Linked DNA regions of Homo sapiens: all the other regions are linked to region 3. The links are contacts of gene promoters, found by promoter capture Hi-C in blood cells and fetal thymus (Javierre and others, 2016). All regions are on one chromosome and are shown on one strand. Each heading gives the region's core, a stretch centred on a gene start or on the middle of the fragment in contact. The rest is flanking DNA. Distances are from core to core; before and after follow the strand shown.

Evidence for each region. The method cuts DNA at HindIII sites, captures the fragments that hold promoters and counts their contacts. A CHiCAGO score of 5 or more calls a contact.
Region 1: a contact is called between the fragment with the promoter of CHIC1 here and the fragment with the promoter of UPRT in region 3, in 2 of 17 cell types (non-activated CD4 T cells and fetal thymus). The highest score is 11.9, in non-activated CD4 T cells.
Region 2: a fragment that was not itself captured here is called in contact with the fragment with the promoter of UPRT in region 3 in 1 of 17 cell types (total B cells); the score reaches 5.6 in total B cells.

What each region holds. Positions count from the first base shown.
Region 1 is chrX:73,561,435-73,564,980 of GRCh38, reverse strand. CHIC1 (cysteine rich hydrophobic domain 1) reads right to left here and starts at 1,784. Exons shown (of 6, transcript NM_001039840.4): 1 at 1,401-1,784. The coding sequence starts at 1,696. It also overlaps the pseudogene MAP2K4P1. RefSeq lists a silencer at 1,805-1,864. The HindIII fragment of the contact is 6,151 bases long and covers 690-3,546 here.
Region 2 is chrX:73,940,655-73,943,805 of GRCh38, reverse strand. No RefSeq gene overlaps it. Among named protein-coding and RNA genes, the nearest start is that of JPX, 2.1 kb to the left of the region's middle. The HindIII fragment of the contact is 1,186 bases long and covers 1,242-2,427 here.
Region 3 is chrX:75,272,735-75,275,781 of GRCh38, reverse strand. It overlaps UPRT (uracil phosphoribosyltransferase homolog), which reads right to left and starts at 1,697. Exons shown (of 7, transcript NM_145052.4): 1 at 1,142-1,697. The coding sequence starts at 1,527. LOC124905200 (a long non-coding RNA gene) reads left to right here and starts at 1,746. Exons shown (of 4, transcript XR_007068269.1): 1 at 1,746-2,304. RefSeq lists enhancers at 1,317-1,526, 1,687-1,736, 1,757-1,806. The HindIII fragment of the contact is 1,552 bases long and covers 606-2,157 here.

The DNA of each region.
Region 1 (3,546 bases), core at 535-3,034, 1.7 Mb after region 3:
TACGAAAGTATATTACAATTAAAATACTCAACATATCACGCCTGTAGTCCCAGCTACTCAGGAGGCTGAGGCAGGAGAATTGCTTGAACCTGGGAGGCAGAGGCTGCAGTGAGCCAAGATTGCGCCACTGCACTCCAGCCTGGGCAAAAGAGTGAGACTCTGTCTCAAAAAAAAAAAAAAAAAAAAAAACTCAACATGTTAAAAATTGAAGCTAATATAAGGGAGGTAGCATATATATGATTTAATGTAACATGAACTCAATTGAAAGTCAAAGGGACTAGGTGAGCCATTATCAAAACCAGAGGCAGCATGACATAACAACAAAAGGCAACCTATTTTGAAAATGCAGTAAAAGATAGCATAGTTCAGAGGATGAACATGACACAGTACTCAAACTTCCAAATAGTTATGGTCCAAGCAAATAAAAATGAGGAAGCACTCTTTAAATCCCGGAGAATCATCAACATTTTTGCCTTGTAGCTGTTATGAAGTCCCTCCCCATTTTATTTTCTGAAATATTCAATTTTTCCTCAAGATTTCAATTTTTTAAAAAACCACCCTGGATAAATTTTAAAGAAATTATGCTCAGCTCCCAAAGTATTAATTTCCATATATATTTAATGCCTGTATATTTCATACTTGGGCATACAAAATCCCTTGGAGGTAAATTATCTCAGAACTGAAAAGCTTTAGAAACCATCTACTCCAAACCCTTCATTTTAGAGATGAAGAAATCAAGGCGCAGAAATGAGAAAAAGCAACCTGACCAAGGTCACAGGGCCAGTAAGAAGCAAAACCGGGACCAGCGTCTAAGAGCCCTGACTCAATCCATTTCTTTTTCTACTTTCCATAGCTGCCTCTCATCCTGAACCTCTAATCGAGTGATATATAAGGAAGGATTCGATAGGAAGAATGGATGGATGAATACGTGGGTGAATGAACATTCTATTATTATTCACAAAATATATCATGTTTCTGTTTTGAAGAATGCAAGCCTAGTTCTTGTCACATGTCACAGCAATTGCTGTTTCCCACAAAGTATCAATCTTGTCAGCAAAAAACCCTCTGGTACATCCTGCAGTTTAGAGACTGTTCACTTGCCAGCATACATACAAGAAAGGAGACTCACCCCTACTCCAATCGCTCTGGCTCCCAAACCCCTAACTTCCCTCTCCTATACTCACTCTTTACCTGGCATTGGTGCATCATATTTACATTCTCCTCACTTCCTTCACACGTATCCACCCATGGTTTCCCCATTTAGACCAGGTGTCCTTTCCTAAGTGTACGCCTCAGTCAATCAGTCAACCCTCCCCCACTCCACAGGCCCCTCGATCACTTCTCATTCCTCTGTTGCCAAATCTCAGGCATTTCAAGTCCCAAGACCCCCTCTCGCTTACACAGTGATGTGGCCGGCACCCCGCACTAATACAGGGTCGGGAGCATATCTCCGCAGATGCTCCTCGCTCACTACCCGAGGCGGGGGCGGCGCTTCCTCCTCCTCTTCCTCCTCCTCCTCTTCTTCCTCCTCCTCCTCTTCCTCCTCTTCCTCCTCATCCTCCTCGTCATCGTCGGGCCCAGATACCGACGACGACGACGACGGCGACGACGACGACGTTGCCGCTTCTTCTTCCTCCTCCTCCTCCAGTTCCGAGATGGTGTCGAACTCCGCCATGTTGGGCAGCAGGATGCTCATCACGTGACCTCGCGATCGCCGCCACGCTCCCGGAGAAGAGTTTGAACCTGCCGAGGTGCTGCAAGAGGAGGGGGAACGAAATGAAGAGAAAGAGGAGGGGTGTAGGGACAGGATTTGAGGAGACGCGCCTGCGTGTTGGGCAGACGGGGGGGTGGGGGGGCGGCTGCTGGAGGCGGGGGCACTAGAGAGGAGCAAAGTCAGTGTACGCTTGCGCAGCTCCAAGGGGAGGGGGCCGCTAGAGGTGAACTCCAAGGAGTTATCCAGGTCCGGTCTGCGGGTGCTCGCCTTAATACTGCTCTCTGAGCGTCAGCTACTTGTATTCGGGGTATCTTCTGATTTTATTGCTTATTAATTAATGCTGGGCATTATTAACCCAACTGCAGGCGGGTGAGAGAAAGCATATTGTATAAAAGTAAGGTTAGAACTTTGTCCAAAATATCTCAAGGTATATACCAATCCCTTACGTTTGTTCAGCATTACAGTTTAAAAGCCTTGCGTCATAACTTTGCCACAATCTTGGGAGGCAGGGTAAGCACTTTTATTAGCATTTTACTTAAGAGGAAACTTTTTACTACTTCTCCTATGTAATACTTAACGGAGGACTTATTAACTCAGGGACTGTGCTAAGTGCTCTGTATGTATATCTCATTTAATCCTCTGCAACCCTATGAGGTATGTATCATGATGATTTTATATTACAGATGGGAAATCTAGGTGCAGAGAAAATAAGTAATTTGTCCAGTGTCAGGGAGCTACTAAATGGGAGACCTGGTTTTAAATTTGGTGGTCTCTTCTGATTCCAGAAGCCCAGTACTCTTAACCAAAGGGCTGTACTGCCTGAAGTTGTTTGGAAAGATTTTGTAGAATGGTGCCTCTTGGGCTCTTCCTTAAAAGATGAATCAGAATATGCATGTTTGAATTTTGGAGTGTTTTTTGGGGGAGGGGGCGGATGGAGGGGGTGAAAGGAGCATTCCAACCTAAGGAAACCTTAATTAACATCATCCATTTTCCAGACACTGAGCTAGACCCTCACATACAATATTTCAGTTAACCCTTAATCCTGAGAGGTAAGTATCATTATATCTATTTTATTACATGACAAAAGTGGGTCTCAGAAGTTTAAGTAATTTATTCAAGTCTATGGTGACCTTTTGTTCAAAATTTTCCATTTTAAATGGTCTATCCTATCTTCTTTACACTCACTAAAATGTTGTGGGGATCACATATTTTGCGTATCTAAATAGTGTGCCAAACTGTTTCATACTTGGCAGCAGCACAAAAATCCATATCATTAAGACAGTAAAGTCACACAGCTGCTAAGTAACAGAACAAACACTGTAATCCAGGCATTCTAATACCAGCTTCACTGCTCTTTCTGCTACTCTACGGCTGCATCCCAATCAGATGGTGTGTCTCTGGGGAAACAGACATAGTCAAACTTTAATTTAGGATGAGCACGACATTATCAGTATAAACAAAGCATTTAATGTGTGTGAAGTAGGAAGAAATTAGTTCTGTAAGAGAAATGAATCAAACCATTATCATCAAGGAGTATGTGTTATTAAAATGAAAAGCCCATTTTTATTCAAAAGTTGGTTTATTTAGGGAACTTTAAAAATAAGTCGGAGATCGAGACCATCCTGGCTAACAAGGTGAAACCCCGTCTCTACTAAAAATACAAAAAAAATTAGCCGGGCGCGGTGGCGGGCGCCTGTAGTCCCAGCTACTCGGGAGGCTGAGGCAGGAGAATGGCGTGAACCCGGGAAGCGGAGCTTGCAGTGAGCCGAGATTGCGCCACTGCAGTCCGCAGTCCCGCCTGGGCGACAGAGCGAGACTCCGTCTCAAAAAAA
Region 2 (3,151 bases), core at 585-3,084, 1.3 Mb after region 3:
CTTTACTAAGCCCCGTGTTCCGATAGATGAGGGTGTATGTACTTCAACCAACTAATGGGAAAACAGAAACCAGAGGGTTTTGGCCTAGTCATACAGTGAGTCCGTCAATGGCAAAACTGGATTCAGAACAAGGTGCTTCCTTTAATTCTGTAAACAAAAGAGTCTTCATAAAAGAGTTGGTAGCCAGGTGTGGTGGCGCTTGCCTGTAATCTCAGTGTAATCCCAGCTACTTGGGAGGCTGAGGTGGGAGAATCGCTTGAACCCGGGAGGCGGAGGTTGCAGTGAGCTGAGATCGTGCTGCTGCATTCCAGCCTGGGCGACCGTGCCAGACTCCGTCTCAAAAAAAAAAAAAAAAAAAAAGAGTTGAGATGCTGCTCTTGAGCCTAAAAGTCCTTCCATCTTCCCTCTTCTTTTATTTATTTTTGTTTTATTTTTTTGAGACGGAGTCTTGCTCTGTCGCCCAGGCTGGAGTGCAGTGGCGCGATCTTGGCTCGGTGCTACCTCCGCCTCCTGGGTTCAAGCGATTCTCCAGCCTCAGCCTCCTAAGTAGCTGGGATTACAGGCATCTGCCACCATGTCCAGCTAATTTTTACTAGAGACGGGGGTCTCACCATCATGGCCAGGCTGGTCTTGCACTCCTGACCTCAAGTGATCCACCCGCCTCAGCCTCCCAAAGTGCTGGTATTATAGGCGTGAGCCACCGCACCCAGCCTCCCTCTTCTTTTAGATTCAGCTCTTTTAGATTCAGTCCTGACACTTCTAAGAGGCCTCTATATTTATCAAAACCTTTATCTCTGTTGTTCCCGCTCCATGAGGGAAAATACACTAGCTGGATACCAGCCCCAAAAGTATGAAAAAACCGAGGCCAAAACTTGTTTGTGAAGCATTATGTGTGAGTGGTGCAGGTTTCTGGGGGAAGGCTTGTGCTTCACCGGTAAGGAAAAGACACTTTAGAGGTCCTAATCCCTTTCCAAAGCTATAGTTTCTCTCTATGCACTAATGTTGTCTCTGGTTTTCTACGAGACCCCCACATAGAACACCTCTTATTCTATTCATTTGCATCATTACTTTTCTGTCTTTATTTTGATATCGTCACCCTCAAAAGGAAGGTAATGATACACAGTTGTATAAAACATCTGGGCATTGACATATGGACATTTTGGAGTAAAACACCAAAAACACCACATAAAACCAGTTACGTGTTCAAAGGTCAGTAATAGAGGTGGAGAGGTCTCTAAGCTTAAACTGTTTCATCTCCTAGGGTTTAGGCATATTTGAGCACATCTTGGAAATTTGTAGGACAGGCACCAAAAACCAATTGCAAAAGGAACTGTTGAGCTCCTAAGAAAGAACTAGTACTAAAAGAGTAGGGAATCAGATAGACAATGTAGGGTAAAAGAAGGATCAAGTCTGAATGTTGCAGAGGAGGCAAATATGACTGTAAATTCTGTCATATTTTCTTTTGGCAGTAGCACACCATGCATTTATTTTGGGGCAGGTACAAAACATCCCTCTGTAGTAATTTAATGGTAAGTAGAAAGGGGGATAAAAATGAGTGAAACCTGCCGGGCACGGTGGCTCATGCCTGTAATCCCAGCACTTTGGGAGGCCGAGGTGGGCGGATCACCTGAGATCAGGAGTTTGAGACCAGACTGGCCAACAATTACAGCAATACAAAAATTAGCTGGATGTGGCGGTGGGCACCTGCAATCCCAGCTACTCGAGAGGCTGAGGCGAGATAATCACTTGAATCCAGGAGGCGGAGGTTGCAGTGAGCCGAGATAGCGCCACTGCACTCCAGCCTGGGCGACAGAGCAAGACTCCGTCTCAAAAAAAAAAAAAATGAAATCTATTGCAGTTTTGTTCTGATGACTCTTGGGACTTTGTCTGTTTGGGAGGAAAATGACTTTTTATTTATTTATTTTTTTTATTTTTTTGAGACAGAGTCTCACTCTGTCACCCAGGCTGGAGTGCAGTGGCGCAAACTCGGCTCACTGCAACCTCTGCCTCTCCTCTCTCGGGTTCAAGCGATTCTCCTGTCTCAGCCTCCCATGTAGCTGGGACTACAGGCGCAGGCCCCCACACCTGGCTAATTTTTGTATTTTTAGTAGAGACGAGGTTTCACCGTATTGGTCAGGTTGGTCTCGAACTCCTGACCTCAGGTGATCCACCCGCCTTGGCCTCCCAAAGTGCTGGGATTACAGGCATGAGCCACCGTGCCTGGCTGAATTTTTTAAATACACATATAAAGAAATAATCAGCAGGAAGCATTATTCGAGAAATAGGCTTATAAAGCTGCCAGTCAATTTTTTTTTTTTAACAAATTGATGCACTGGTTTTATTTGGTAATGTTTCGAATTGAAAAGTGCTAGACCCAGAGACCCAGGGACAGAAAAGCTATATTAATTCACAGCCACGGTGCAAGCTTCATGCCCCTGCCTCCACTCACTCACATTTCCCCTAGTCTACCTGCCTCAATTCCAACTTAAGAAAAATGCCTCCAGAAAACACCAGAGACAGAGTTTGGTTGCCAGGTTACAATATTTCCTCTTGAAGACTGATCTTGGTAGCTTCCTGGACTACTGAACTAGCTAGTACCTATTTCATTCTCTGTGGAAACCCACTTTTCCTCTTACATAAGTAATTGTTCCAAAGGTAAGAAAGCTGCCTCCTGAAAGAATATAAAATCCAAATAGGTGAAAGGAGAGTTGGGATTTTACCATCATCCAGCCATATTTGGCAGGCACTTGCTTAGAAAGGGCTCTTATTTGGAAATTTTACAAACAAATTTACAAAGGCAATGACCCCTGGGACAATAGTTCATGTTATCTTTGCATTCACAATTTAAGACAAATAAATGAGTAACAGTCTTAACAGCTAAAATGATAGATGCTGAGTTACACTAGAACAAATTCATTTGAAACATGAGTTGGAACAAGAGTGAAACCATCTCAAAAATAAAATAAAATAAAATAAAAAAGTACAATTTGCGGTGGCATGTGGGAGAACAGATATAACAGAATTTATTCATTCATTAAGAACTTACATGTAAAGAATAAGACTACACAAGTGGGTGATGAATGCAATCCAGTATTAATCTTCAAGGAGATTACATTCAAATCGGAGAGGGGAAAAAGAAAAAGAATCGTAA
Region 3 (3,047 bases), core at 448-2,947:
GCTGTGATCTCACCACTGCACTCCAGCCTGGGTGACAGAGAAAGATCCTGTCTCAAAAATATCAATCAAGCTAAGGATCCTGGACTTTATTTGGTAGGCTCTGAGAAGCCAAAGAAGGTTGCTGAGTAGGGCAATTACTGAATCAAAGATGTATGTTATGAAGATTGATTGTACAGTAATGTATGGGTGCATGTGGAAGAGAGGAAAAACTGCAAGCAGAGAAACAGTATTATTACAATAGTGTAAGACAAGGTTTCTAGAGTCTGGTTTAGGGAGTGGCATCTGTCATTCAGTAGCCATTTTTAAAAGATCAAGGCATGTCCCCCCAACCCCTGCCACTAAAAAAGGGGTGTTTTGATATGCTGCTCATTTAAAGTGCTGCCAATAAAGAAAATAGCTGTAGTTCATCATGGTACATATTTCCCTGGAGAAAACCCATTTACAACGTAGGTTTAGAAATTTCAAAATTACATTTTAACATGAAGTTCTGGCTACATTGGTTTGTGGGATTAGGAAGGGCCAAAGGCTCCTTTAGGCTCCCTTTGATCCATTAACTATGTTCTGTGAGTTTACAGTGAAAAATGATAAGAGTTGGACGATAAGCTTTCATGTGATCAAGTAAACCTGAACTCCAAGACTAAAAGACCTTGTTTGCAGTAGCAAATACTAAAGGGTCAGGGCCTGAATAGAATTTCCTTGAAATTGCTTTATTTCTATTTATGAACCTGAGGTGATTGGTGGTAGTGCATAACCTTGGATAGTAACCATTTCTGGGTTATAGGTTTACCATGTGGACAAGCACTGCCCACATAGTATAGGGGAGTTTACCTGCCTGGAATGGCCAAGGAGTTGTCTTTCCTGGGAGAGACAAAGAGCCCAGAGGCTACCTAAAGTCTTCCTCCCCACCCAAAGTGATGTTAGACACCGGAACTTGGAAAGAGAAGGTTGGCGTTCGAGTTACACGACACACACACACACACACACACACACACACACACACACACACCAAATAAAAGGTCTTACCCCAATCTCCAAAGTTTGCCAAGGCCAAGAACACTGTCTCTTAGCCCTTTTACTTCCAATCCCCGCCCACAGCCTGCAAGACCCTCCACTTCCCTTTCCCCTTCCGCTCTTGGCTTACTTGTCACGGATGATGGTCTGTAGCTCCCGTATCTGATCATTCATAGGCAGCAGCTTAAGCTGCGCCCCGATCTGCCGGGAGAGTTCGCAGTCCTCTAGGAAGGAGTTGCCAGCTGGTGCGTCATAGCTGCTACTGTCACCACTACCACTGTTGCCCTCTGAGTTGAGGCTGGAGCCGCCGCAGGCCCCAGAGTCCAGCTCGGCCGGCAGGCTAGAATGGGCGTACCCCGTGAGGAGAATCACCTTGGCCCTGGAGGCTCTGTTTCCCCCTGCGTGGTCCAGGATCAGATCGCCAGGTCGCAGCTGCTCGGGACTTGGGGTTGAGGCAGAGTTTACTTGCTGGTTGTGACAGGGCATGGAGTCCGGACACTGTAACTCCGTGGCCATACACCGGGCCCCGGGCTATCCCCGCTGCTACTGAACACTAAAGATAAAGAGGAACGGGTAGAAAGGACAGATGCTCACGTGCTCTCTCGGTTGCTCCCGCCTCCTCAGAACATCTAACCCTGGCTGTCCTTTCACCCCTAGGCCGCTGTTGGTTTCCTTTAGCACACTTTGGCTCACTCCCGCCCACACCAGACGTACTGCCTGCCTAGACACCCTATTGGCTGCACTCCCCGCCACTCTGCGGCGCCACTGCTTGTTAACCCTTTGAGTCACCCTTGCTACGTGGGTTCCCACAGGTAGCTAAGCCCCCGCAGCGAGGCCAAGGATGCCAGCTTGAAGGATCTTCCGGGGGCCCCTGGGGCTTCTGCATTCAGAACTTTGGGTGATTAGTAGAGCCAGGAAAAACTGGGGGTGGCAGGTGATGATACACAGTTACACACGTAAGGCCCATGTTTTCAGACTTTGTGACCTAGCAGAGAAATTATATCTCAGTAACCGCATCTTCAGTTAGCTTGTCTGCATAACAGAAGGAAGAAGTAAAAAAATGCCTAGCAGGCTGCTGAAGAGGCTGTCCTCTACTAGACTGTTCTAGAAACTGCAGCTTCCCAAGTATGCTTGACCGCCAAAGCTTTTCTTATCTTTATTGGTTGGGCCCCACAGTGTACACGTTGTCATGGGGACTCAGGCGGCATTTCAGATCCACTATCATTTTGAATCTTTAAAGTACTTGGAAAGACGCTTATTTTTAAGTGTATGGACTCACTATAACGGCCTGAGGTAAGAGTGTCTAGGGCAGTACTTTTCAAACATCAGTATGTACCACAATAATTGTAGAGCTTGTTAAAATGCAGGTTCTTACGGCTCATTTTTGAGATTGTGATTCTGTAGATCCGAGATGGGATACAAGAATCTTTTTTTTTTTTTAACTTTTAAGTTCAGGGATATATGTGCAGGTTTGTTACATAGGTTAACTTCTGTCATGGGGGCTTGTTGTAAAGATTATTTCATCGCCCAGGTATTAAGCCTAGTACCCACTAGTTGTCTTTCCTGATCCTCTCCCTTCTCACACCATGCACTCTGCAGTAGGCTCCAGTGTGTGTTGTTCCCCACTATGTGTCCATGTGTTCTCATCATTTAGCTCCCACTTATAAGTGAGAACATGCAGCATTTGGTTTTCTGTTCTTGTGTTAGTTTGCTAAGGATAATAGGCTCCAGCTCCATCCATGTCCCTGCAAAGGACATGATCTCATTATTTTTTATGGTTGCATAGTATTCCATGGTGTATATGTACCACATTTTCTTTATCCATTCTATCATTAATGGGTAGTTAGGTTGATTCCATGTCTTTGTTATTGTAAATAGTGCTGGAGTTAACATATGTGTGCATGTGTCTTTAATAAAACAATAATTTATGTTCCTTTGGGTATATACCCAGTAATGGGATTGCTGAGTTGAATGGTATTTCTGTCCTTCCTTTTTTTAACATGCCTATACAGATTTTTTTATAATTTTTTTTTTAT